4 separate regions of the Homo sapiens genome follow, and all the other regions are linked to region 4. Evidence: promoter capture Hi-C in human tissues and cell types (Jung and others, 2019). All regions are on one chromosome and are shown on one strand. The core of a region is centred on a gene start or on the middle of the fragment in contact, and the rest is flanking DNA. Distances in the headings are between cores, read along the strand shown. Region 1 has its middle 210 kb from the start of LINC01515. Region 2 has its middle 13 kb from the start of LINC01515. Region 3 overlaps LOC105378339 (a long non-coding RNA gene). Region 4 holds the start of LRRTM3 (leucine rich repeat transmembrane neuronal 3).

Region 1 (6,926 bases), core at 3,026-5,525, 1.6 Mb after region 4:
TATTTACCTTGATTATTCCTCAAAGTAGGCAAACTGATGGGTGAGAGAGGGCAAAGCCAGGTAGAAGGATGCATCATATCTGATGGATAGTTTTATATACTTCTGGCAAAACGTACTAAATAATTGTATTATTTATTAGCACTTTTTAAATACTATGCTTTTTTATCTGATATTAGATTGAGTATATGTATATAACAAGATTTATTCCAGTGACTGTTAGAAAAATATTTTAATAAAAATGAGTGATAAAACAGTTATAACTTAAATCCAATGCACTCAGTCTATAAGTCTTTTGTCATTCTGTCATCTTTTTTATTATATCATTAGAGTCATGATTCACATTTGTTGAAATATGAGGAACACACAATATACAAAGAGGTAATCAAATGGAATCTAGATGAGTAATAGAATGTAAGGGCTTTTATCAGGCTAACTTGGCTGGGTTATAAAACGTCATGGGTGGACAATTGCATGACATATGAAAAAAGATGATTATCAGGCTAGAAAAATATTAAAGATAATTCTTAATATTTTGACCTTTGCACAGCCAAAAAAATACAGGCAGCCCTGAACATTTTCTTTCTTCTAAAATGGAATATATGTCATCCAAAGGGTCTGTTATCTCATGCCTTCATATTTCTATTAAAAAATCAGGCTAGGTAGAACAAGATGCACAACCAAAAAGAGGTTATTCTTCTTTCATTAAAAAATCCATAATCCTGAATAAAAAATATTAGAAGACATGAACCTGTTCAACTGTTGAAAATATATTTTATGCTTCTTTAAAGTGACCATTTTAAAAATATTAATTATGTGAAACTTTGCTGCCATTTAAATACACAATTCTTCTTGGCCATTCAGTACATGCTCACCATTTTTCAGAGGCGGGAACTAAGGCTGAAAAAGAATAAATAATTTTCCAGAAGTTGCACTGTAAATTAGTAGGGCAAGACACAACTAGTCCTGGGCCCCTGTTTCTCAGCTAAGGCTTATTTCTTCTAATATGTTGCTTTTAAACATTTTCAGCATTTTATATGAATTCATTTTTAGAACTAATATAATATAGAGGCCATTCTAAATAACAACAATTGTACTTTTAATATTTGTTAATTAAAACTGTCACTATATGCAATGTCATTCACAGTATTATTTCATACTTACAGATTAAAAGAGATAAGACTTGAACTGAAAGAATTCATTTTATAAGAGATAAAAGCATATGAACATACAATATATTATAACCTTATAACATTTTAATATTTTGACGATTTTAAGGGCTAAGAATAAAGAGCAGGGAAATATAAGAAAAGGAATGGTTAGGGACTCACAGGAACAGCTTCACCAAAAAGAAGAGAGAGCATTTCAGCAAAAGCAAAGAAGCATACAAGAGCAAAGTGTAAATGGGATCTACACAGTATAATGCATGAAGTCAGAAAACTATACAGGATTGAGATGGTGAAACAATACAATCAGAATTTAAAGAGCTTTCAATACCATACATATCAATAAAGATTTCTTTTTGAACGCAATGTGGTACAAATGAATAGTTCTGAGAAGGCGAGAACAAAGTCATGTTTGCATGTAAGAAGCATCACACCTTTGGGAGGCTGAGGCGGTCGGATCACGAGGTCAGGAGATCGAGACCATCCTGGCTAACACAGTGAAACCCTGTCTCTACTAAACATACAAAAAATTAGCCTGGCGTGGTGGCGGGCACCTGTAGTCCTAGCTACTTGGGAGGCTGAGGCAGGAGAATGGTGTGAACCCGGGAGCCAGAGCTTGCAGTGACCCAAGGTCGTGCCACTGCACTCCAGCGTGGGCAACAGAGTGAGACTCCTCAAAAAAAAAAAAAAAAAAAAAAAAGGCATCACACTAGGGCAGAGCAGGGCATGACTGAAGGAAGATGAGAGTAGAGAAGTGCAGATTATGATGAAAAGACTATTAAAAATTTTCAAACAAGTTACAGTGAACTCCCAACTGCTTCAATAGACACTAGTGAGGATGTATATAGAGAACAAATATTTACAGATTGTATAAACAAGTTTAACCATGGATTGATTTTTAAGGTAAATAAAGAAAATCTACCAATCAATTAATGTTTTCAAGTGAGATAAAATGTGTTTATCTATTATAAATATAGATCATAGTTGCTCCTTGAATGTAGATCAATTCATAAGAAGAATACAGTGTGATAAGAAGGATTTAAAATGTAGATTCCTGCAGAATGTTGATATGAAAATGCATAGCAAAGAGGAATTCACAGAGCAGACTGAGAAATGGCCAGAGGTGTATAATGTAAATGGAAAATGAAAATTATCCCAGAAACCACGGGAGAAAAATATGTTTGAAGAAGGAAACACTGGTCAGTAGTGACAAATGTTGCCATGAAATAAAGAAAACTGAAGTCTAAAAGATGCTCATTGGATTATCATACTAAAAATTTAATTAAAATATTTTCAGTGACCTGGTAAGGTAAAAATTTAGCTTAAAATAAATAAATCATTGATGGAACAGGATATACCAAATTCAGTACTTATAGTGTAAGCTACTATTTCCCAAAATGTTAGGGGAAAAATGATAGGGCATGTAGAAGAGATTTAAAACCAAAATAACATATTTTGTGAATGGAAGCATTTTCAACATATTTCTATGCAGAGAGAAAGAAACAAATGTAGAGGAAGATACTAGAGAATATTTGATGAAATAAAGATACTGAGTATTTGGAAAGAGGATAAGAGCCAAATCAAAGATAAAAGAATAATTTTTTGATATAAGCCTGAATATCACTATCTCTGACTTCAATACATATTAGATAACATTATAGGTAAACATGTCTAACCTTAGAGAGTTGATAACTGATAAGCTCTCTTGTTTTTGTAAAATTTGAAGCATAGTCAAAGTCATATGAAAGAGATGGAGACAAGGTAGCATATTTGAGAGGAATAAAGATAGTAAGGAATAGATTTCCCAAAAGTGAGATAAGAAGAGTAATACTCTGGCTAGGCACAGTGGCTCACACCTGTAATCCCAGCATTTTGGGAGGCTGAGACAGGAGGATCACTTGAACCCAGAAGTTCAAGACCAGCCTGGGAAATATAGTGAGATCTCATCTCTACAAAAAACAAAACAAAAATTTAGTCAGACGTGGTGGTGCATGCATGTGGTTGAGGCTACTCAGGAGGCTGAAGTGGAAGATTGCTTGAGCCCAGGAAGTAGATGCTGCAGTGAGATATGATGACATCACTGCGCTCCAGCTTGGGTGACAGAGCAAGACTCTATGTTTCAAATCAAAACAACAACAACAAAATAAAAGTAAGACTCTGTATGTGGATTTCACCCAAGCCAGTTGTGATCCTGGGGATGGCCACATGTGGGCGAGCAGCTGTATTCAAATAACATATTATGCTTAAATTAATGTTCTTAGACTCAAGCCAATTAATACAAATTTATATTATTTTAGAAATGAAAGCATTAATCATCCATATCCACAAAGGTTTATGTCAAGTTAACAAATCAAAAATTAAATTTAGATACACTGGCACCATGCTTCATTGAATATTTATCTTAGGATTTCATTTGCAGTCAGATAACTCATTTCTAATTCAGTCAATGAATCAACTACTAAGAATTTGTTTTAAGTATCAAATATGAGCGTAAAGCTAGTCTGGAAGGCAATACAGGAAAATTTTAAGAAATTATACTGATCTTCAAGATTCTTAGACTCTAGAGCAGCGAATAATATAAAAAGTGGCAAATAAAATAGCACATTGTTGTCAAAATTCACAACTGGACAACTAATTATAAATTGGTATAGCAGTTAAATCAAGCCTGAATATTTATGCATTTATTAAGCTTTGAAGTATGAGCTAAAGTCTTCGACTTGAAGTACCTTACGTTATGATTTAGAAGAAAAAATAAATACCCTCAAATTATTTTCAGGAATAGAAGGCAATACTTATCAAATGACAAATGACAGGAATAAAATATGTATGGTACTAACTGGATAATTATGGAATCGGTAATAGTTGATAAAAATATTAAACGGGTTTAATGTTTTATGAGAAAAAACAAGATACATAAATAAAAAAGAATCAGAGATTTGAAAACAAATTTTTTAAAAAGCAAAGTATCAGCCCCAGTGGACAAACCCCTAAAATATACAGACTACATTTGGGTTAAATAGATGAATTCCCAGTTATAATGAACGAAGGCTGCATTTGCAATGACCCTTGTTCACGAGCACATATTGCATTCCTTATTACCATTTCTCCTACTGAAGAAAATGTACAGGGTGGAGTAAGTATGAAGTCACTTTCCTAGGAAGCATTAAATAATAATTAATGAGACAATGGTCAGTAAGGGGATGGAGAACATAGAGCACTATTTGGAGTGTGCCTCTTAGTAGAAGGAATTTAAAGGGGAAGACAACATGAGTGAAGGCATCATCATCAAAGACTAAGACAGAAATAGTAAACCATTTACACAACAGTAGTGCACTGGTAATATCCAAACATATGATACAATTTGGAGGAGTGAAAAGTAAGACTGATTAGGTAAGAGTAGAATACACAATGGGAGGCTTTGCAAGTCAGTGAGAATAAATTTGGTTTAAAGCAATGAAAATTAGGAAGCCATTAGAACATTTTGGAGTAAGAAAGTGGTAAAAATAGTATTGTCAGATAATCTACCAAGATCTAGGGTAGAAGAATATTTAAAAATAATTAACCCAGCCTGTAGGAAGACTAAACTATTGCTCAGGATAGATTGGATTCGGATAGAGCTGCAAAGAGAGAAAACAGCAAAGAAGACCATAGAGTGTAACAGTATCTTCTCTCCTGTTTTTATGCTTTGGGAGTGGAACTATGTCAAAACATTGCAAAATTTCTATTTGTGATAGAATATCAGCATATGTTTCTAGCAAACTTTCAGGGCATTGTAACAAAATTTTAAAAATATACACATAAATTTCATGGTGCCTTTAGACAAATATAAAGTCATTAGACTTTAGACTTTAGTCTTTAGACTATAGACTCTAAAATCTTTCGACTTAATATTAGTCTAAAGGCACCATGGAATTTATGTGGATTCGAGTTTTACAAATAAATAGAACCAATAGAGTATATAGAGAGATATATATGAGGAGGTTTATTATGAGAATTGGCTGATACAATTATGGAGGCCAAGAAGCCCCACAATAGTTAGATATGCCATCTGCAAGAAGGAGAGGCAGAAAAGTTGGTAGTGTAATTTAGATGAAAGATGAATGCCTAAGAACCAGGGAAGCTGATGATATAACACCCAAGGACTAAGGCTGACAAGCTGGTGTAAGTTCCGAAGTCCAAAAATAAGGAGCATCAGATGTCCCAAGCCAGAAGAAGATGGATGTCCCAGCACAAGCAGAGAGAGCAAATTCAACTTTTCTCTGCCTTTTTGTTTTATTCAGGTTTTCAGCAGATTGGATGATGCCAACCCCACAGTGGTGACGGTGAATCTTCTTTACTCAGTCTACTGACTCAATCACCTATCTCTTCTAGAAACACTCTGAGAGACACACTCAGAAAGAATGTTTATCTGGGCATCCCTTAACCTCATCAAGTTGGAACATAAAATTGACCATCACAGTCTTGATATGTTAAAATATCACATTTATCTCAGGAAATCTGCACTAAGCTTTTATTTTTAAATGTTTTATGGGAATAATCTTAATAAAATCTGACCTGCGATGTGTGATGAGATTAAATTAGTCTCAACTTATTTAAGTGCAGGCACACGATAATATCAATATAATCTAATAACATCAAATAGTTCTTTACAAATATGTATTGCACATGCCAGAAGCCAGATACTATGTGACAATGAATTCACATATAAAATTGGCTATGAAAAGAAATGTTGTCTAAATTCATTATTCAAGTTTTCTGCTAAAACAGTGGTTAAAAAAAAACTGTAAAATTTGAATTAATCCATTATTGTTCCTATCATAAGACACAGATTTTGTTTAAATGTCCATCAAAGACAAACTTTGTCAGGTTTTCTCAAGCTCAATGTATTTTAGGATGAGGGAGGCAAATATTGGAGGTTTCAGACACATACAGGCAAATTAAAGAATTTCTACTACATATAATACATCTAAGTACAATAGTTAACTAAAGGTGTCAAAAGGCCAGGGTGGGTCTCAAGATCTAGGGAAAGACTGGGCTGGTATTCAAAAGAAAGGCATAGATTTTTAACTTGGATCTGCTACTATGAAAATTTCAATTACACTCACCCAATCTTGTTTTCCTTGTCAGTGAAATGGTTAGAAGAGTGAGGTAATAATACTAATTTAATAATACTACTGGGCAGAAGTTTTGATCTAACATTTTGGGAGCTTACTGTGAGTGAACTGAGCATTATAAATTCTTTACATGCATTATTTTCATTAATCCTTAAAACAGCTAGAAGAGGAAGTGTCACTCTCATTTCCATTTTTATATAGGGGAAGTGTAAATTTCAGATGAGAAAATTGAGTTTAGTAAATTATGCAACTTTTCCAATATACTTAGGTCATAAGTGCTGTGAAGTATTATGCATTGTTATGCCCCTCTACTGCAGAATGACAATGTATAGATAACAATGGAAAAAATAATAAGAAATGCTTTGTATACTATAAAGTATGTTATAAATATACTATAATTATTTTATTTTACTGTATTATAAATATGCTGTGAAAATTTTTGAGCCTAATGAATTTTTATGTTATCACAGTACTTTCCATTAAAAATACTGAATAAATATTTGTTAAATGAAGAAAGGAAGGAAAGAGAGGAGTATATTAACATGATGTAGCTTACTGGAGAAAGTAAGGAAAACCTATGAAGTTGAACCATATCAAAGTACCATTTTTGTAAGACAAAATGGTTGATAATATGCAAATTCATATAGCT
Region 2 (6,672 bases), core at 1,460-3,959, 1.4 Mb after region 4:
TCAAAATATTACTGCTCATTGACAATTCACCTGGTCATGCAAGAAGCCTAATGGAGATAAAAAGGAAGATTAATGTTGTTGTTTTGTTGTTTTTATGCTCCTCATATAACATCTATTCTGCAACCCATGGATCAAGGAGTCATTTAGACTTTCAAGTATTTGTATTTAATAAATACCTTTTGTAAGACTTGTGAACCCATAATATCTGAGACAGGTCTCAATCAATTTAGAAAGCTTACTTTGCCAAGGTTAAGGATGCACCTGTGACACAGCCTTAGGGGGTCCTGATGACATGTGCCCATGGGTACAGCTTTCTTTTCTGCATTTAAGAAAGACATAATACATCAATCAATACATGTAAGATCTACAGTGGTTGGACCTAGAAGGGCTAAGGGGTGAGGTTCCTGGGTCATAGGTAAATTTTAAAATTTTCTGATTGGCAATTGGTTGAAAGAGTTATTATCCGTAAAAAGGAATGTCTGGGTTAAGATAAGGGGTTGGGGCTGGGCATGGTGGCTCAAGCCTGTAATCCCAGCACTTTGGGAGGCCGAGGTGGGCAGATTGCCTGAGGTCAGGAGTTCGAGACGAGCCTGGCCAACATGGTAAAACCTCATCTCTACTAAAAATACAAAAATTAGCCAGATGTGGTGGCAGGCACCTGTAATCCCAGCTGCTCAGGGGATGGAGGCAGGAGAATCGCTTGAACCCGGGAGGTGGAGGTTGCAGTGAGCTGAGATCATGCCACTGCACTCCAGCTTGGGCAGCAGAGCAAGACTCCGTCAAAAAAAAAAACTGATAAGAGGTTAGGGAGACCAAGGTTTTGTCATGCAGATGAAGCCTCCAGGTAGCAGGCTTCAGAGAGAGTATATTGTAAATGTTTCTTATTAGACATAAGTTCTTCGTTGACATTAACACTTGAGGAGTATAATGAGGTATGTCCAACCTCCTATTCCATCATGGCCTGAACTAGATTTTCAGACAAATTCCAGAATACCCTTAGCCAAGAGGAGGGATCCATTGAGGTGGTTGGGGGGCGCTTAGAATTTCATTTTTGGTTTGTAGACTATAGCTGCTATAGATAGTGATTCCTCTGATGGATTTGGGCAAAATAAATTGAAAACCTTTTGAAAGGGATTCACCACTCTAGACACCATTAAGAACACTTGCGATTCATGGGAGAAGGTCAAAATATTAACATCGACAGCAGTTTAGAAGAAGTTGATTTAAACCCTCATGGGTAACTTTGAGGAGTTCAAGACTTCAGTGAAGAAAGTAACTGCAGAATTGTAGATGGAGCCTGAAGATGTGACTGAATTGCTACAATCTCATGATGAAAGTTGAATGGGTGAGCAGTTGCTTCTTATGGATTGGCAAAGAAAGTTGTTTCTGAAATGGGATCTATTCCTGGTTAAGATACTGTGAACATTGCTGAAATGACAACAAAGAATTTAGAATATTTTCTAAGCTTAGTTGATAAAGCAGTGGTAGGGCTTGAAAAGATTGACTCCAGTATAGCAAGTTCTATTATTGAAACTGCCATTGCAAAATCATAACTGCGAAAGTTATTTACAGTGAAAGGGATCTGACCTAATTGACTTCATCTTGCTTCTAACCACTGAGCTATCCTTGTTCATTGGTGGGTGTAGGCCAAACTAACTTTGAGAGGAACTTAGTTTATAGTTTAGCTTTGAAACAAAGTTGGTAACAGCCCTGTTCCAAAACAAACCCACTTCCTGCCTCGGGACTGGACTGGCTTTGCAGGACTATCAAATTAGCCACAAGAGTAGAAATATGGTTTAGGAATTATGCAGCTGGAGGCTACAAGATTCTGACCCTCTGAAATTGCTCCTGCAGACAACATCTCTATTGTAAAACCTAAGAACTTAAGATATTTGCAGACCCTGCACTTGATGGATCAGCTGGCACTACTCAGATCGATAAACTTGTTCATCTGGATTTTTGGCCCCCATAGAGAAACTGACTCAGCGCAAGAGGACAGTTTTGACTCCCTGTGATTTCTTCTCCAACCCAACCAATCAGCACTTCAGATTCACTGGCCTCCTACCCACGAAATTATCTTTAAAAACTCTAATTCCCGAATTTTCAGGGAGACTGATTTGAGTAATAATAAAACTCCAGTTTTCCTTACAGCTGGCTCTGCATGAATTATTTTCTTTTTGTTGTTGCAACTCTCCTGTTTTGATAAATTGACTCTGTCTAGGCAGCAGGCAAGGTGAACCTGTTGGGCAGCTACACTATGGGTAAAACGCTACCAAACAGCATTGCATGCTACAGATAAATCTTTTGTTAAAGGAAGAGTCAAATGATATGCCAAACTCCACTGCTGGCTTATGTTAAGAAATTTTCACAACCACCCAGCCTTCAGCAACCTCTACCCTGATCAGTCAGCAGCTGTCAACATGGAGGCAAGATCCTCCACCAGTAAAAAGATTACAATTTGCTGAAAGCTCAGGTGATTATTAGCAATTATTTTTGGCAATAAATTATTTTCTAATGAAGCTTTGTACTTTTTAAAACATAAGGCTGTTACATACTTAATAGATTACAGCGTAGTGTTAACATAACTTTAATATGCACTGGGAAAGAACCAAAAAGCTTGCATGGCTCACTTCATTGTAATGTTTACTTTATTGTGGCAGTTTGGAACCAAACCTGCACTATCTTTGAGTTATGCCTTTTTTTTTTAATTTCATGACGGTTTGGTCTTATGTTTAAGACTCTACACCCAACACAGATTTTCTCCTATGCTATCTTCTAGATTTTTATGGTTTTTCATTTTACATTTAAGTCTATAAGTTATCTTGTTAATTTTTGTAAAAACTATCAAGATTCCTTTTTTAAAAAATTTTATTGGATGTGTATTTGTTTCAGTTCCATTTGTTGGGAAGTCAATGCTTTCTCTATTAAATGACCTTGCTCTGGTAAAAATAAAGTCAATTAGGGTGTGACAAAAGAGCTTCCCTTGAGGACACGCTTTTGTTAAGGAGGACAGAAAGCTCTGAGTGCATTTCAAAATGGCTACTTTTCCCTTCCTTCTGCTGGAAACAGGAAGGGATACTTTTTTCTCATCTTCTCCATAAGAATCTATTTAGGCTCCTGAAGGTTAAGATTCATGAAAGTACTGTGATACACAGTAGAAATTTTCCTTGACATACAATAGGGTTACATTCTGATAAACCCATCATAAATCTTGTAAATTGAAAATGCATTTAATACACCAGACCTACAGAACTTAGCCTTGTTCACCTTAAGTGTACTCAGAACACTCACACTAGCCTATAGTTAGGTAAAATCACCTAATACAAAGCCTATTTTATATATATATACATATATATGTATATATAAAGAGCAAATATATGTATATATTTATATATATATAAGAAAAAAGTGTCAAATATCTTATGTACCACATAGTCCTAGGCCAGGCAAAGATCAGAATTCAAAATTCGAAGTATGTCAAATTGTGATGGTTTGCAAAGTTGTGAAGTTGTCAAATCATTAAGTTGATTGCCCTTCTCTCCGGTTTTTATGGTGGCAGCTTGCCCTGTGACAGCAATTATTAGATAGATTTAAGAAGAGTTGTTCCTTTTCAAATTGTTCGATTATTTTCTTGTTGTAAGAATGAGAGTGACAACTTCCAAGTCCCAAAACAAGAAATTCATCTTACTTTTTACCATAGTCTTGACAGTAACTTCTGGGCAACCTTATGTAAATCAGTGATATTGACTTCTAGATTTTGTATGTATAAATAAAAATTGGACAAGATCGATATTTTCAAAATAAGCTTTATGATATTTTAGCAGACTTTAAAACAGCACACTAGTTGATGGTAAAATAAAATGATCACATATTTGTTAAAGTTCTTCAGAGGCAACTGATAAATAGCAGCCCTTTTTCCCATAAGACTTCATTTGAAAAATAGAATGGAGTAACATATGGAAGCTAAATTATAACTCATAGAATGCTCAGGCTGCAGAATGTTATTTCACATACACTGAGCATGTCTGCTCACTCAAACACAATCCCTAAATTGGGCAAACTATTCAATCACTGAAACCAAGCCACTCAGGTCTGGGGCAGCAATTTTCTAAGTAATAAAGTACCTGGCAGAACAGTGGCAGGTCCCTTTGCCTGAGGAGTAGTTTACTTCAAGAGGAAGAAAGGAAGAGGAGTGCTAGGCATACTAAGTTCTTGCTCCCATACTCACTAACCAAGTGTCACTTCACTACCCTTCACTACCCTTTGGGACAAAGTGAGTAATGGTATAGTTAGAGGCCAGAAATAAGCTTAAGAAAATCCTGTCTATATAGAAAACAGTGGAGAGGCGGGAAATAACAGAGTTTAATAACTTTTAACATTGTCGAGCTTTTATTAGGCCAATGCTCAGAGATTTCCTGATAGGGTTAGAGTTTGACTTGCCAACTCAGATTTTCTTAAAACCTAAATAGATATCTCAAACTTATAGTCTGCAACCAGACTTTGCTTTATTATTTCCAGTAGAGTATGGTTTTTCCTTTGTAAATTCCTGTCCACATTTTTAGTAAGAGATTTCACCTGAAAGTTTAGATATTCAGCTCCTCATAAATCTTTAGATGACAACACTGGGCCTTATTTTCAAATGGCAATAATTGCCTGCAACTGAGTAGCAGCTGTTCTCACTAGACAATGTGAATACTCTTCATTTTGCCAGTTTTCACCAATTACTCACTGTGTTCATAATGCTCTTACCCAGAATCTGCTTCATTCATTTATATATCTGTCCTTATTAGGCATTTGGGTTTGTGATCGCTGCTCTAAAGAGAACCAAGCTTAGCCACATTTTAGCAACCCATCTCATCCATAGCCAGTGAAACTTTTTTGGAGTTATAAGCCCAGAAGACTCTGAACTGGGAAATTCAGTATCAAGGAGTCCACTCAGGTGAGTATCAGCTTGCGGCATCATTATACTGTGGAAGGCAAGAGATTGAGAGAGGGTAAAAGAGATCAAGAGATGGCTGAACTTGCTTCTGTAAAAAACCCACTCTCAGGACAATGACATTAATCCATTAATGAGAGCAAAGCCCTCATGACCTAGTCACTTCTTAAACATTCCACTTCTCAACACTGTTGCATGGGGAACTAAGTTTCTAACACATGAACTTTGGGGGACACATTCAAATCTTAGTACTATCCTATATGCCTGGTCCATTTCTTTTATAACCTGCCCCTTTTCCTGCTTTTCATTCTGACCTTGGACCCCAAAACCATTTATGTCTACATATCATGTCCTTGGGAACTTGAATCCCATATATATATATGTAAAATCTCTGAATCAGCTTATTAGGATCCTTAGAACCAAGATGTCTAGAGTTGAAGGCTGCTATGCCTTCATTTTCCAAATAGACCTATGAATATCTCTCCCTCCTTCTGCCTACACCTGAAGTGAGATTGAGCCACACTTACTTATATTGTTATGTATCTTCTAGTCCTAAGGCAAGGGTAGAAACGCAGGATTGTGAATCAAAAAAGCTGATCATTCTGCCAAACATGAAGGGCCAGAGCAGATGAGAAGCTAGAGAAATAAGGTCTAAGTGAGAGTAAGAAGTTTCTGGCAATTACTTATGATCAGAAATTTTAATAAGCATAAAATTATTCTGGCAGAGGGGAAGTCATATGTTTAAATAGAAGACTTTTCGTTATGGCTAATCCCAGAAAAGAGGACAGGAGCAGACTTATCCATGAACAATATGAGGTTATCTTAAAATTAAATATTTAATCTTTTCTACACTGGAACAGCTCCATTCTTTTTTTCTTTTTATGAAGATAGTGATCACTTCATTTGTACAGTTCCTTCCAATAATGCTCACTTTTACCTGAACACTTAATAAAACTTGCTTTTGGTTACTGAATTTCCTTTTGCGCATTGATAAGATGACTTCTGTATGAGTTTTCCCCAAAGCCCCCCACCCCGCCTTTTTTAAAGAAGGTGTGAGTCATAAGGGGCATTACTGAAAGTATTGACTCACTAATCTTTAAGATGTCTCTAGGCTCTGCCTTCTCCTGACCATAACATTCTCAACACACAGAAGAAGACTTTTTTTTTTTCTTTTTGAGATGGAGTCTCACTCTGTCGCCCAGGCTGAAGTGCAGTGGCACTATATTGGCTCACTACTCGCTCCACCTCCTGGGTTTACGCCATTCTCCTGCCTCAGACTCCCGAGTAGCTGGGACTACAGGCACCCGCCACCACGCCCGGGTAATTTTTTTTTTTTTGTATTTTTAGTAGACACTGGGTTTCACCGTGTTAGCCAGGATGGTTTTGATCTCCTGACCTCGTGATCCGCCCGCCTCAGTCTCCCAAGTGCTGGATTACAGGAATGAGCCACCGTGCCTGGCCAGAAAAGACTCTTAATGCTGTAACATAAAGCTGTTTTCTTACCTACAAAGGACAAAGAAGCAAACGTTGAAAAGAGGTAAAGGTAGCATTCTCTAGACCTATAAGACAGTTGAACCCCTACAGTAGTATTTTTTCCCAAGTAATGCTACTGAGTGAGGGTTGAGGGAAATACCAGTGACAACTGGCAGGGTGGGGGCTGGGGAGATGGATTCATCTCACTAAAAACACTGCCCAGAGAGCTAGGAAGTCCTGAAGAGAAGGCTCCTGACATTTTT
Region 3 (6,710 bases), core at 3,164-5,663, 1.1 Mb after region 4:
ATAGCTTGATTAATTATTACAACATTATGCAATGCAGTAATACATCCTGAAATTTACACTTTATAGATGAGTAGGCTGAAATTAAAGGAGTTAAATGAGACCAATGTCCTTATTTTCTGTTGAGAAAAAATGTTTATCTAGCATTCTGTCACACACAATCATTTTTACCTGGCCTCTACAGAGTGATAAAAATTGAGACCCTTGAGGAACCCAGAAGCAACTGACAGAAGTGGATTCCTTATCAACTTAGCAGAGAGTAAACAGTATTCAAGATTGTCAATGTATTTTATTTTCCCTTAAGTACAAATGGGTACTCAAGACGTGATAAAAATCCAGTATTTGAATAAGCAGAAAATGCTAGCTCCTGTCCCCCACACCTCAGACATACACAAAAAAGTTAAGAGTGCTTATCTTATTATTGAAAATATCTTTTGACAAAAGCTTTAGGAATTACTGTTAAAAAAAAATTGTTGAATAAAGAATCCATGAAAATTATACTGTTGAAGTTAGTATATTTCTCAGCTTTGTAAATTTATTTTGGGGGTGTAAAATTTCATGACCAAAGAAATAGGTTTAATATTTTATTAGCAAAAGTTTAGTGAATAAATCACAAGTGCATATGCTCAGTTCAATTTTGTTTTTAGTATTGAAACTTTAAGAAATATAATCATTGAATTGCTTTCCTGGACCTCAGTGCTTGAACAGGATATAAATACAGTGCAGCATGAAAGCACTACCAATGAAGCTGGGGAAATCTTGTTTAGAATGTTCTTGTGTCATTTTACATTGCATAGAATAGGGACAGCAGAATTCTGTATCCTTTTACAAATCGTTGAGTCTATGTTCCTAAAATTCTCTAATAGCCAAAGTTTAGAAACCCAGAAAGCATCAACCTCATATTTATTCCATAATAGTGAATAATAATGACATCTCATAATTTTGTTTTATCTGACTGTAATTTTTACATCTGAAATACATAATTAATTTATTGAAACTCTTATTTTGAGGCTGAAATTTTTAAGTAAAACTTAAAATGGTTTTTGCATTAATAGGATTTGTTTCTGATCCTTAATTTAATGTAACTTAGTTTTGTGACACTGGTCAAGTTACTCACCCACTGAGAAACTCACTTTATAAAGTGAGTTTTGGCCAGGCACAGTGGCTCATGCCTGTAATCCCAGCACTCTAGGAGGCCGAGGCGGGCGGATCGCCTGAGGTCAGGAGTTCAAGACCAGCCTGGCCAACATGGTGAAACCTTGTCTCTATTAAAAACAATACAAAAATTAGCCAGGCGTGGTGGCAGGCACCTGTAATCCCAGCTACTCAAGAAGCTGAGGCAGGAGAATCCCTTGAACCAGGGAGGCAGAGTTTGCAGTGAGCCGAGATTGCGCCACTGCTCCAGCCTGGGCGACAAAGCGAGATTCCTTCTCCAATAAATAAATAAATAAATAAATAGGGAATTTTGTATGAAGATGATCTTAAAGATCCTTTTCATTTATGAGATTTGAAATACATTTGTGAAAAAGGCCTACATCACTTGTTAACTTGGCAGAAAATGAAATAATTTACAATATTATTTTTACATTAAAATAACAAAAATTATATCATGTAATACAATATTGAATTATCACAATGTTTAAAAATTATAACTTAAGATTTCAGATAAATAGTTTTCATGTGGATAACCACTTATAACCAAACACATGCTCCTTCTCTTGGTGCTAGTGACATTTTAACTCTTGTCCTTGTTTAAAGGATTTTGGTGGGAAAAAAATTCAAGAACTCTGAGTTACTATAGCTAAAAATATTCCACCCCAGGCTCATAAAAATGATGCCTATTAAAAGATCATATTAAGATCTTATTAAGCTGACCCAGTGAGTAATGAAAGCAGTTTTTCTGGGGAAATTAGGAAAATATAATTTGTTTCCTCAAACTCTACCGAAGTAGCATGGTGAGAATTAACAGTGGTTTTGGTGTCTTCAGTACATTTGTGGAAAATGTTCTACTGACACGTTGAGCTCTAAACCTAGGAATCTGATTTATTTTAATCTACTGCTGTGCCAATGTAATACAATTAGACCCAGTTAACCCTTTCACTCTGTCTAAGACCTTGATGTTAATTAAAATACGAGAAAATCAAATTAAAACAAACAAACCCCCATGGCTCTGTCCCACACCCCATAGAGCTATACATGAACTAAAGGTGGTAGCTGTCATATCACTTAACTACAAACCTGGGAGGATGGGTCAGAACATATCACTCTCCAGGGCAATTTTATGGGAGGTACTGTTACCCTGTAGTCTTGTTTCATGAAAAATAATGCTGGCTGAGTGCAGTGGCTCATGTCAGTAATTCAACACTTTGGGAGGCTGTGGTGGGAGGATTGCTTGAGCTCAGGAGTTCGAGACCAGCCTGAGCAACAAAGTGAGACACCCATCTCTACAAAAAGCATTAATAAATAAATTAGCCAGGTATGGTGGCATGTGACTGTGGTCCCAGCTACATGAGAGATTGAGGCAGAAGGATCTCTTGAACCCAGGAGGTCTTGAACCTAGGAGCTCAAGGCTGCAGTGAGCTGTGTTTACTCCAGTACACTCCAGCCTAGGGGGCAGAGCAAGACCCTATCTAAAAAAAAAAAACAGAAAAGTAATGCTACCCCTGCAGCAAAGCTAAGAGCAAGACTCCTGCATAGCATCCCTTCTTCATTCTGATTCCCTATCATACTCCCCATGTCTATTCTTTGGGATGTTTTTCCCTAGGCCTCATGGTCATAGTCTCATTCACCACATGCTAGTTTAACACACCATGTGTTCTGTCTCCCCTCCCCACTACTTCAGAGTTAGGTTTCATTTTACTTACAAATGTCCAGTGTAGATAGACTTTTTATTTAACTGTGAGACTTCTTGGGTTCTTTAAAAATCTACTTTTATTTTGAAACAGAAAGAAATTATAGAGGAAAAAATTTCCCCTCCAGTTTGAAATAAGGCCTTCCCTCCTCGTTTCCTCTAAACCTTGTACATCCCTTCTTGGCCTCTTAATTTCCACAATAAATTGCCTTAATTTTTAGCACCAGATGTTTGGGAAACTACATAGATTTTTTGATAAAATAAATCCCAGAACCAAATCAAGAGGCCTCTTCTCATTGAATACTTTTTTTTTTTTCACATCCCAGGCACTTTTCCTTTTTTCCTTGACCTTCTGTTATTGTAAGCATGTGCAATTCTGCCCATCATGGAAAAACCTTCACATTCTACCAGACTTTTAAGTGAAGAATATGTTTTTTTTGTCTCCTTTTACTTATTCTTTTTAGGCCTTGCCATCTGGTTTCCATTCCCAATTTTGTTTCCAATAATTTTTCTTCTCCAAATATATTCCTGTAGCTGAGTCTCTACTCACTCTCTTCTTACTCTGTTTTCTTACATTAATGTATTTTGATTATACCCTTTTCTTGACATCTTTTTTGAAAATGTTACCTGAATTTTTTCTTCTCCAATCTATTCTTATATTTTTTGAAAATTTTACTAATTTTAAATGTTTATTTTAAGAAATTTCTTAGTTCACCAATCTTTGCATTCCACTTCTATAGAAAAAAAATAGCCAAGCATAGTGATGTACACCTGTAGCCTCAGCTACTTGAGACTTTGAGGTGGAAGGATCACTTAAGCCCGGTGGGCTATGATTAAGCCCCACTGTGCTCCAACCTAAGCAACAGAGCGAGACCAGGTCTCTAAAATAAATAAATAAATAAATAAAATACGTTAATTAATAGAAAAAAGAAATGCGATTTTTCTTTCTTCACAAGAACAGGTTTCAGGAATTAACCACTTTTAGTCTCTCTTTGCATCTAATTAATTCAGTCTTCTCCTCTGGGAAATATATTTACTCTTATTATTGAACATCTTATATTTACACTAGGAGTTGGGGGGTCACTACATTAAGAAGACAGTGTGTGCCCATCTTTTTCTCCTTTGTGTTCCCTCTCCTGCCAGCAGTCATGAACTTGAAAAAGGTCTATGTCTAATCTTCTATGTCATTAGCTATAATATCTCTGTAGACTCAGTTCTTTCCACCAATGGTCATGCAGTTCTAAATGTAAGGAGTTCTAAATGTGGCCCCCACTTTGATCATTGAGCTAAGCTGCATTCTCCAATTTAACTTTATTAGAGGGCCTTATTCTTTCAGAGTAGTGAACTATTAGGAAACTGCCTGGCCAGTTAGTAATACTAACACATGAATCCTCAATTCATATCCAGCCAGGCCCAGTTGCTTGGGTCTACTCTTCATTGGTTATAAACCCAAGCAAGGCATAAATAATTCTTAGAATGACTTTTATACCTCCTCTCACCACGGCAAACTGTTAAGGAATTGGCAAGAAATCCTTATAAATAAGAACAGATACTGGATGGGTTTGATTGAAGTACTGTACAGGAAATCAAGCTTTGGGTACATCTGCTGAAACTGGCCAGGTGAGACACAGGTGGCACATTTGGTAGCTTCTCATACTGTGACCACAGATGTAATTATAGACCTGGATATTCTAGATGCCATATTGTCATAATATTTTGTTGTTGTTGTTGTTGTTAATTTCTAGGTAAGTCTTACCTCAAAACAACTTCACTATGCTTTTTAAAGCATAATTGGCAACTTGTCTTTTTCAGCATAGTTGACTGGAAGAGATCTTTTTTTTGTTTGTTTTGTACTCTTCCCTTTTATTATGTCCTTACCAGGATGCAGGCAATCATCCCCAATCACACATAGTCTAAATTTTATTGTTTATTTCATAAACTCTGATTATAGTCTATAGACCTGGGCTGTAGGTTAATTATACTGAATTAGTTAATCTCACTGACAAGCAGACAAAAATGAGTGGGGATCCTTATATGGAAATATGTCATTTTCTTGGATTGAGGTGGAAAAATATTTTTATGTAATTCTGTAATAACAAAGTCTGGGGAGAAAATTAAAAAGACTTAAACCTAGATCTTCTAGGTATCATATGTGTTTAGAGGAGAGTGAATGGTAACAGTTACAGTTCAAAATTATCTTCAGTCTAATTTTGAACATGGAAAAATGAAAGAAAAGTAAAATGGGACACATGTTGCCAGATGGAAGGAAGTGACTTCTTGAGAAAGATCAGATCTTAAAGATCAGACTGGCTATTTATCTATCTTTCTATCATCTGTCTGTCTATACAATAAAAAAGGAGATCTACTTTATACACAAAAGTGGAACTAAGAAGTAGAAGTAAGAAGAGGAGATAATTGAGCTATTATTGGTCAATTAGCCACTAGATGTTAAAAAAATCTAACAAAATATAAAAGAGAGGAACTCAGGTACCAAATTAATTAATGCCTCCAGAGGAGCTAAGACCCCAAGATCTATACAAGGAGTTCTCTCAAAGCTGTAAATCAGGAATTAATTATAAAAGCAATTGAGAAACAGCTTATAATGATGAATTCTGCTACAAGATGGTTCAACATGTGAACAAATTTGAATGAAGAAGACCTGGAAGATCAGGGTGTAATATTTTTATACTTATTAAATATGCCTTAAAGTAATAGAGTTTCTATAAGGGTATGGCCTAGGGAATTTAAATCAATTATAAATAAAGCACAGGGAGATGGAGAAAAAAAAAACAAAATCAAGTACTAATGCAAGAGAAGGTGATCAGAATTTGCTTGAATGGTGTAATCATGTGGCAGATTCAAAAATTCATTGTTTCTACATGTCTCACAAGAAGACTCTGCAAAACAAAATCTGAAGAACAGTATGGAAGGCAAGGGTTGTACTTGAAAGCTAGGAGGCAGGAGGGCTTCAGATTCCGTGAAAAGTACTATAATCATCCTCCCACAGGTTTTTCCTGCTCACTGTGCAGACAAAATTGGTTCACAGAGACCATGCCATTGCAGTAGAGAAAGAGTTTAATTAACCTGAGGCTGGCCACACAGGAGAATGGCAGTGATCACTCAAATCAATCTTCTCAAAGGCTCAAAGGTTAGGGTTCATATAGACAATTTGGTGGGCAGGGCAAGGGCCAGGTAATGAGTGCTTGCTGATTCATTGGAGATAAAATCACAGGGGTGTGAAAAACAGTCCTTGTGTTTTGAGTCAGCTGCTGAGTGAGGCCACAGGACCTGTTGAGTCATTAGTCATGAATCTGGGTAAGGTCAGTCTGTAAAACAAATCAAATCAAATCTTATGTTTTACAATAGTAATGTTATCTATAGGAGTAACTGAGGAAGTCACAAATGAGACAAAGCTTATAAGCAGAGATGCCAAATATTTACTACATAAAGGCAAAATGTTAAGTAAGTGGTTTTAAGTGTGTAGGATGAGAAGTAAAGGCAAAAGGGAATCTCAGAAGATGGGAAGCTAGAGGAGGGGGGATGTACACATTGTATATGTCTACATTTTGCAAGTAGATGCAAAAGATTTCAAATGCTGGCCTCTGAGAAGAGAGGGAGTGTGCTTATATGAAATTTCCTCTTCCTTCATTGTATAGAAAGCTTAATATCCCATTTAACTGGTTGATATAAAATGGCTAAAAATGAGAATAAAATTTCTTTATTTAACAATTCCTCTTTCTAGTTTCAAGACTCCACCAGAGCCCCTGATTGACAAAGATATTAGAAATGTTCATTGTACTTTATATTGAGTTCAGAGGTTATTTCATTTTTACTTTTGTTTGGTATTTATACTACTTTGGTG
Region 4 (6,836 bases), core at 471-2,970:
AGATTCGGGACACACTGGAAAACACTGGGTCCACTGAAAGCTTCGATCTCATTGCCTGATAAATCAAGCCTTTGTAAGGAGCTCCAGGTCCAGGACATGGTCTGTCCTATGACACTGATTTTATTCCACTGCAAGTAAAGGTTCTGAAGGCTGACCAACCTTGGAAAAAGGGCCAGGTTGAGCTTGGAAAATTGATTGTGCTCCAGGTGAAGTTCTTTGAGTCTGATCATGCCAGCAAAGACATTCCTGGCTAAACTTCGGATCCGGTTATATCCCAGGTCCAAAAGTTCCAGGTTGCGGCAGTCTTGGAATATTCGCACAGGGATGGTTCTCAGGGAGTTAGACCGTAAATGTAAACTCAGCAGCTTCCGCAAGCCCCGAAACTGTTCAGATCCCAGAGAATGCAGCTGATTATAGGACAGATCCAAGTTCCGTAAATTTGTCACAGGTCTGAAGGTATTGTTAAGAAAATAGGAGATTCTATTGGAACTAAGAATCAGCTCTTTGAGTCTGCGTATTCCATTAAAAGCATTTTCGTCAATATTGCTGATATGGTTATGGTCAAGGTATAGCCAGGTGAGCTGGTTGAGCCCTTTAAATTGATTATACTTAAGTTTTTGAAGGCTGTTATAGCGAAGGGACAAACCTAAGCAACCAGCAGATATACTTGAGGGTATCTCCTGTAATTTCTGAGATTCACAATATACCATTTTGCCTTCACACCTACAGCCCTTAGGGCATCCTCGTTCGGCAGAAGAAAGCATTGTCAGTAAGACAGTGGGGGCTATAACCAGTGCTACAGCTGATCCGCTCAGTAGCCTAATTACATTGAAACCTGGAAATAAAAACAACTTAGAAAAGTTATCCCCCCAAAAAAGAATTAATCCTTAATCAAGCAAAAATAGGCATATATTTTTCATTTTTAAAAATTTAAATCTAAATAACACTTAACATCACATATTATCTCTTTGTAATTAAAGAGAATTGTCTTTAGTGTTTTGTTTTTTTAAATAGTTAAACAAGGAAACATGCCACTAAGCAAATAAATTCATAGTCTTAGAGCAGAGCAAGGTAATCTCTAAAATAATTAAGGCAGAATTATTACACACACTAGAGGTTTTTTGTTTTTTGTTTTTAAGAAGGAAAGAAGAAAAATGACAAAACATACCCATCCTTTGTATTGTTCAAAGGTCGTCCTTAGGTCTTTTGCTTTGGCTTAGGGGCCAGTTGCATGACAGCCCCTGTCAGCTGCACTGTAGTGAGTCAGGGCTCGCTGACACCCAGGAAGAAAAATTGGACCCCTTGGGAGATGGACCGATTTTGGAACATTATTCTTTGCCAGCCACGCAGAACACTCCAAGAACAAATAAATCCCAACACCGCATTCGCAGCAAAACATCAAAATCTTCCTAGGTAATAGGATCTTCATGGATATTACGTTTTTGCATCTTTACAGTTTTTTGGGGGGTGGGGAGGGGGCGGTTAAAAAAAAAACTGGATCCTACAATTTCTTCTTATCGAAAAACATGATGTATTCTTCCAGGCAATTTGGGGCTACCTGAGCTGCCACATCTGTATTCCATACCCCAGCAGTTCCCGTGATGAGCACCCAGTTCAGCCACAGAGCTGCGTTGGAGCCCAGAAGGCAGGAGAGCCCCGTACCGCGCACACGCTCAGCTCACTTCTGCAGACTGTCATTCTGAAAGCTGCTCGGACTGTTGCTTTGGTTTCAGTGAATGCAGTCTTATGTAAAGCTGCCCCCAGTGGTGAAGAACATTATGGGCATGTGCAGAAATGTCTCTCTTTTATCTTGCAAATGAGCAGGCTCTCTGCTGGAAAATGAATGATTCTTTTGGGTGGCTCAGTAGGAACTGAATGGTCACCGTGATCAATAACTAGCAACATTTTCTGTGATTTCCAAGTCTTGTTTTACAATTTGGCAACGTCTTTATTGTCTGTGTCCACTTAATTGCTAAACATGTGCTGCCCAGAGTTTTTCTGGAGCTTGACATTAAGTTCACAGACCGAACGTCAATTTTTCTTAACCTCAACGCAGGCTTTAAACTGAAATTTATAAAATGAATTATTGAGCTTTTCACAGAGAAGCATTAACTGCCTGCCCATTTGACCTCTTGGAGTCACAGTGATTATATTATGCAAGGTGTCTCAGGATGTTAGAACACAAACATTTTGGAATAGAGGGGATGACTGATGACAAGTGAATTAATGTGTCCAATAGCCTTTCCGGTTTTCTCACAGACGATATAATTGATTTTATGGCTATAGTTTCGTTTGTTGTTTTGGTTGTTGTAATTCTCTTTTAATTAGAAGGGAAATAAACCATTTTTAGTGTTAGGATACGAATCAAGAGATCATTTGGTTCATACTTTATTGATGTTGCTGCTATTTATTACACTAATAATATTTATGGAGCACTTTCTAAGTGCTTTAAATGGGCTACGTTGTTTTCTCTTTAAACAATAGTATGATGTGGGTCCTATTATAACCTCTCTTTTAAAGATGAGGAAACAGACTTGGGGAGGTAACTTTCTCAAGGTCATACAGCAAGCGAGTGCTAGAGCTGAGCTTCAGAAGCGAGTCATTCTTATGCCGAACCACTAACCACTAGATGATCCTGTTCAACAACATTGTTATCTTCATTTAAAAAAGAAGTCAGTGAAAATGAAGCCGATTAAAGGATTGGGGCAAGGAAGCTGTGATTAGCAAATTCTTGCTTGTTCTATTAGAATTGCCTAAATTTCTTTTGGTCTGAGGTTCCTAAAGAAGTATAAAAACTAAGGCAGCGTAGTTTAGTGATTAACAGCATAGATTTTGGCACCTAGATTCCAACTCCTGGCTACAATTTACCAGCTATGTAACCTTAAGCGCGTTACTTACCTTCCCTATGCCTCAGTTTTCTCATCTGCAAAACGGGCATAAAAACAAAAACTCACTTCATGTTTTGAGAATTAAGTCATTTTAATATCTGTATGTTACTTAGAACAGTGTGTTGCATGCAATAAGCCTGTGTAAGATATTTGAATAATATTAACTTTATTTGTACTTGCTAGGATTACGTACTGAATATTGACTATACTGACCTTCATTAACTCACAAAGAACAACTTTAGTGAGCATTTTTAAATATTGTACATGGTGGATTTCTGAGATTTACTCAGTCTTGCCTTCTTTGATGAGATAACTTCCTTTATGTTCATCATCTGAACTTTATCTTTAAAATAAATCTTCTGGTTCTGTGGATCATGACTAATAATGTTCGATTCTTTTCATCTCCAAAGTAGAACATAATAACATCTGCCATGTAGAGGCATTTTATTTAAAAATAATGGTATTCTTGAAAAAGTTTGCCTTGTTGTTTTTTGTTAGGTGAACTGTCTGTGGAAAACCGTGGAGAGCTTTCACATTCTCCAAGGATGAGATGTTTGATAAAGGCTAGTAATGACAATCAAAAGGGGTCCTACAGATATAGTACAATGGATATTACCAATTCCTTGGGCAGTATGTTCTTAATAGGGCAGTGCTTTCCCCCAGAGTTACCTAAGCTGTGAATGCACATGAAACATCCAGTGAGTTTCTTAAAAAGATAGACTGCCCAATCCCTCCCCCAGGATTCTCATTCTAGGGGGATGGAAGAGTGTGTGCTTTTCAATAGTCTCTGATGAAATAAGTTTAAGAAACTCACTGTGAAGGAATGATTAAAAATAATATTTTCTCCTAGTAGGAAGAGAGGGTTTGCACACTTATAATACTGAGATGTAAGTTCCACAAGGACAAAGACAATGTTTTGTCTACTTCATTTTTCCTAATATCTACAACAGCACTTGGCACATTGCAGACATGCAATAAATAGCTATTGAAAAAAATATGTTTTTATATCAGTCACAAGTACAATGGATATAGTATAACTGATTATGTAATGTTCAACATTTGTACATGGGATTGAGTCCTGAAAATTTCCTCAGTCAGTGAGACTGGAAACAATTTTGGAGAAAGTATTCTTAAAGGAGGTATATACAAAGACAAAAACTAGAAAGTGAGAAAACTTAGTTGATCAGAAAGTGATCTTTACTTTTCACAGATATCTTGTCTTCATAGTTAAACTACAAATTTCATGAGAACAGTAAATATGCTTTTGACTATTCTCCTTTGCACAGCACAGAAGGGTAATACTGAACCCTTATCATTTAATATCCCAAATGGGCTTGACAACTTGTATCTCTCAAAAACAGACTAATGAGAATTATATTGATAACTTCTCTCTCACACCTCTGTTGCTTGAAAGGCTCTGAGTTTTCCCCTCACTCTCCCACGTAGTCATTGAGACATCTGTTTTGCCCAAGAGCTGCAGAGAGCCACTCCAGGAGGCTGGAGGACCCATTAACTTTGTGCTTCTTGCTCATCATACTTTACTTCCCATTGACAGAAGAACAGAGGAACCCACTGAGAATGTGGGCTCTCACTTTGCTTTTCCTGGGATAAATCTTCTTGAATTATTTACGGTGAATATTATTCTCTGCTGTGTTACACACATTGCTCTTAGTTTTCAGACATTTTTCTTTTATCTTGGTTCCTGATCTTATCTTACTGCATAGTTCTGACTTTACACCTACCCTTTGGATCTTATGATTAATATTTATTTAGTCTTAATACTAACAACTGAGGGTATAAAATATTAGAGTGAGTAAATAAGACCTAGTATTGGCTAGCACAATGGGGTGACTATAGTCAATAATGAATTAATTGTGCATTTAAAAATAACTAAAAGTATAATTGGATTGTTTTTTATACAAAGCGTAAATGCTTAAGGGCATGGATACCACACTTACCCTTATGTGATTATTACACATTGCATGCCTATATCAAAACATCTCATGTACCCCATAAACATGCACACTTACTATGTACCCACAAAAATAAAAAATAAAATAAAAATAAAACAAAACTATATGACAGGAATGATGTGCTACAACAAAAATTGCTTTGGTAGCAATGTATTGATTGACAAGGAAAAATGTTCATAATGAAATAATATTAAGGAAAAAAATACTGACCATCAATCTCTTTCTCAACAGTAATCAGTAGCCACTCTTGGACTGAGTCAGCCTCCAGGAACTGTGTATGGCCCCTACTTTGGCACGACCCCTTAAGTCGGCATCACAACCAGGTCTGATCTGGTTCAGGATAATAAATTGTTTGAAGAGGGAAGATTATCCATGAGGCTAGTTGAGAAATCCAAAACAAAATAATGTGATTCTAAGCCACACTGAATACTTGAGGCTGCAGAAGTTACTGCAAAGACATAGAGTAGTCCCTCAAGAGAAAAAGAAAAGACTGTGTTCTAAAAGATTTTAGTAATTTGCCTGTATACTTTTTAAAAGTTTTTTCTCCTTTTACTTGTCGACTATAGCGAGCTGATTATTTCTGATTTGCCTTTCAGCAGAAGCAAAATTATATTGCATTATGTATTTAGAAACTAGCAACTTCTTTTGCACTTAATATCGCATACAGAACAAACCGTAAACTACCTGACGAGTTAAATATCCCCAATGCATCCAGGGCCTTAATGATTTATACAATTATAAAAATAGTGTCATGTATCTAAAGACTTTTTATTTTATTGTGCTTATAGGACTTCAAATAGCTAAACATATTTTGTTTAAATTGGGTAAATAAATCAAATCTCAGTTTGGCAATACTGCCAAATTTTAGTCCAATATGAAACTGAGTTGCCAGATATAAACTTAGAAATTCATAACTGAAAGAGAATGGACTGATATCTTAACAGTTGTTGACTTCAGATATTTTATTTATTTTACAAATATTTAATTTGAATAACCATTGTGTGCTAAACACTGTTCCAGACACTGGGAATACATCTGTGTGCAAAATAAAGGCCTGTACCCTTGTGAAGATTACATTCTAAAGGGATAAGACAGACAATTAAAAATAAACATATACAGTATATTAGTAGGTCATATGTACTATGAAAAAAAAGAAAAATATAAGGAAGATTGGGAGTGCAAGGTATGAGGTGGGCTGAGTTTTAAATAGGATGGTTAGGGCCATTAAGAAACTGGCCTGAGCAAACCTTGAAGGATATGAGCTTGTGAGACTTAAATGTATATATGGGGAGTGGCCAGTGCAAAGGCCTAATGTGGAAGCAGATCATGTGTTCCATGAACAACAAGGAGGCCAATGAGTCTAGAATGGAGAGACCAAGTGATAGAATAATTGGAGATGGAGGTCATGGAGGGCTTTGGATGACATTCTAAGAATACTGGCTTTATTATGGAGAAAACGGGGAGCTAACTGGAGATTTTTGTGCAGAGTTAGTATGTGATCAAATAACCTATTAAAAGGATCACTGCTGTGGATCGGATGTTCTCATTTACCGTCCCCAAAAGCCATATATTGAAACCCCAATTCCCAATGTGATGGTATTTGGAGATAGAGCATTTGTGAGGTAATTAGGTCATGGTATTGGAGCCCTCATGACAGATCAGTGGGATTATAAGGATAAAAAGAGACAGAAATGAGAGAGCTTGCTTCTTCTCTCTCTCTGCTACAAGAGAAGGCAGCTATTAAGAAGCCAGAAATCAGGCTGTCTTTGACATCAGGTCTTCTGTTACCTTCATTTTGGACTTCCCAGCCATTAGAACTGTGAGAAATAAATGCTTACTGTTTAAACCACCCAGGATATAGTATTTTTGTTTATAGAAGCACAGACTGACTGAGATGATCACTCTTAGCAGGGGACACAGTAACGAGGCCACCATATCAATCCAGGAGATAGATGATGGTGTTTGGGCCAGGGTG

What was found. Contacts are between HindIII fragments. The study calls those that stand out against the background at their distance.
Region 1: a fragment that was not itself captured here is called in contact with the fragment with the promoter of LRRTM3 in region 4 in 1 of the 25 tissues and cell types used here (heart right ventricle).
Region 2: a fragment that was not itself captured here is called in contact with the fragment with the promoter of LRRTM3 in region 4 in 1 of the 25 tissues and cell types used here (dorsolateral prefrontal cortex).
Region 3: a contact is called between a fragment that was not itself captured here and the fragment with the promoter of LRRTM3 in region 4, in 1 of the 25 tissues and cell types used here (dorsolateral prefrontal cortex).

The regions. Positions count from the first base shown.
Region 1 is chr10:65,359,513-65,366,438 of GRCh38, reverse strand. No RefSeq gene overlaps it. Among named protein-coding and RNA genes, the nearest start is that of LINC01515, 210 kb to the left of the region's middle. The HindIII fragment of the contact is 6,059 bases long and covers 1,246-6,926 here.
Region 2 is chr10:65,555,531-65,562,202 of GRCh38, reverse strand. No RefSeq gene overlaps it. Among named protein-coding and RNA genes, the nearest start is that of LINC01515, 13 kb to the left of the region's middle. The HindIII fragment of the contact is 3,718 bases long and covers 851-4,568 here.
Region 3 is chr10:65,860,816-65,867,525 of GRCh38, reverse strand. The region is part of intron 1 of LOC105378339 (a long non-coding RNA gene); the gene reads left to right. Among named protein-coding and RNA genes, the nearest start is that of CTNNA3-AS1, 220 kb to the left of the region's middle. RefSeq lists a cis regulatory region at 4,903 and an enhancer at 4,819-4,988. The HindIII fragment of the contact is 3,945 bases long and covers 2,441-6,385 here.
Region 4 is chr10:66,920,920-66,927,755 of GRCh38, reverse strand. LRRTM3 (leucine rich repeat transmembrane neuronal 3) reads right to left here and starts at 1,720. Exons shown (of 3, transcript NM_178011.5): 1 at 1,169-1,720; 2 at 1-835. The coding sequence starts at 1,172. All of the region lies in intron 7 of CTNNA3 (catenin alpha 3), which reads left to right. All of the region lies in intron 3 of LOC101928961 (a long non-coding RNA gene), which reads left to right. RefSeq lists a silencer at 1,748-1,857 and an enhancer at 1,477-2,333. The HindIII fragment of the contact is 13,899 bases long and covers 1-6,836 here.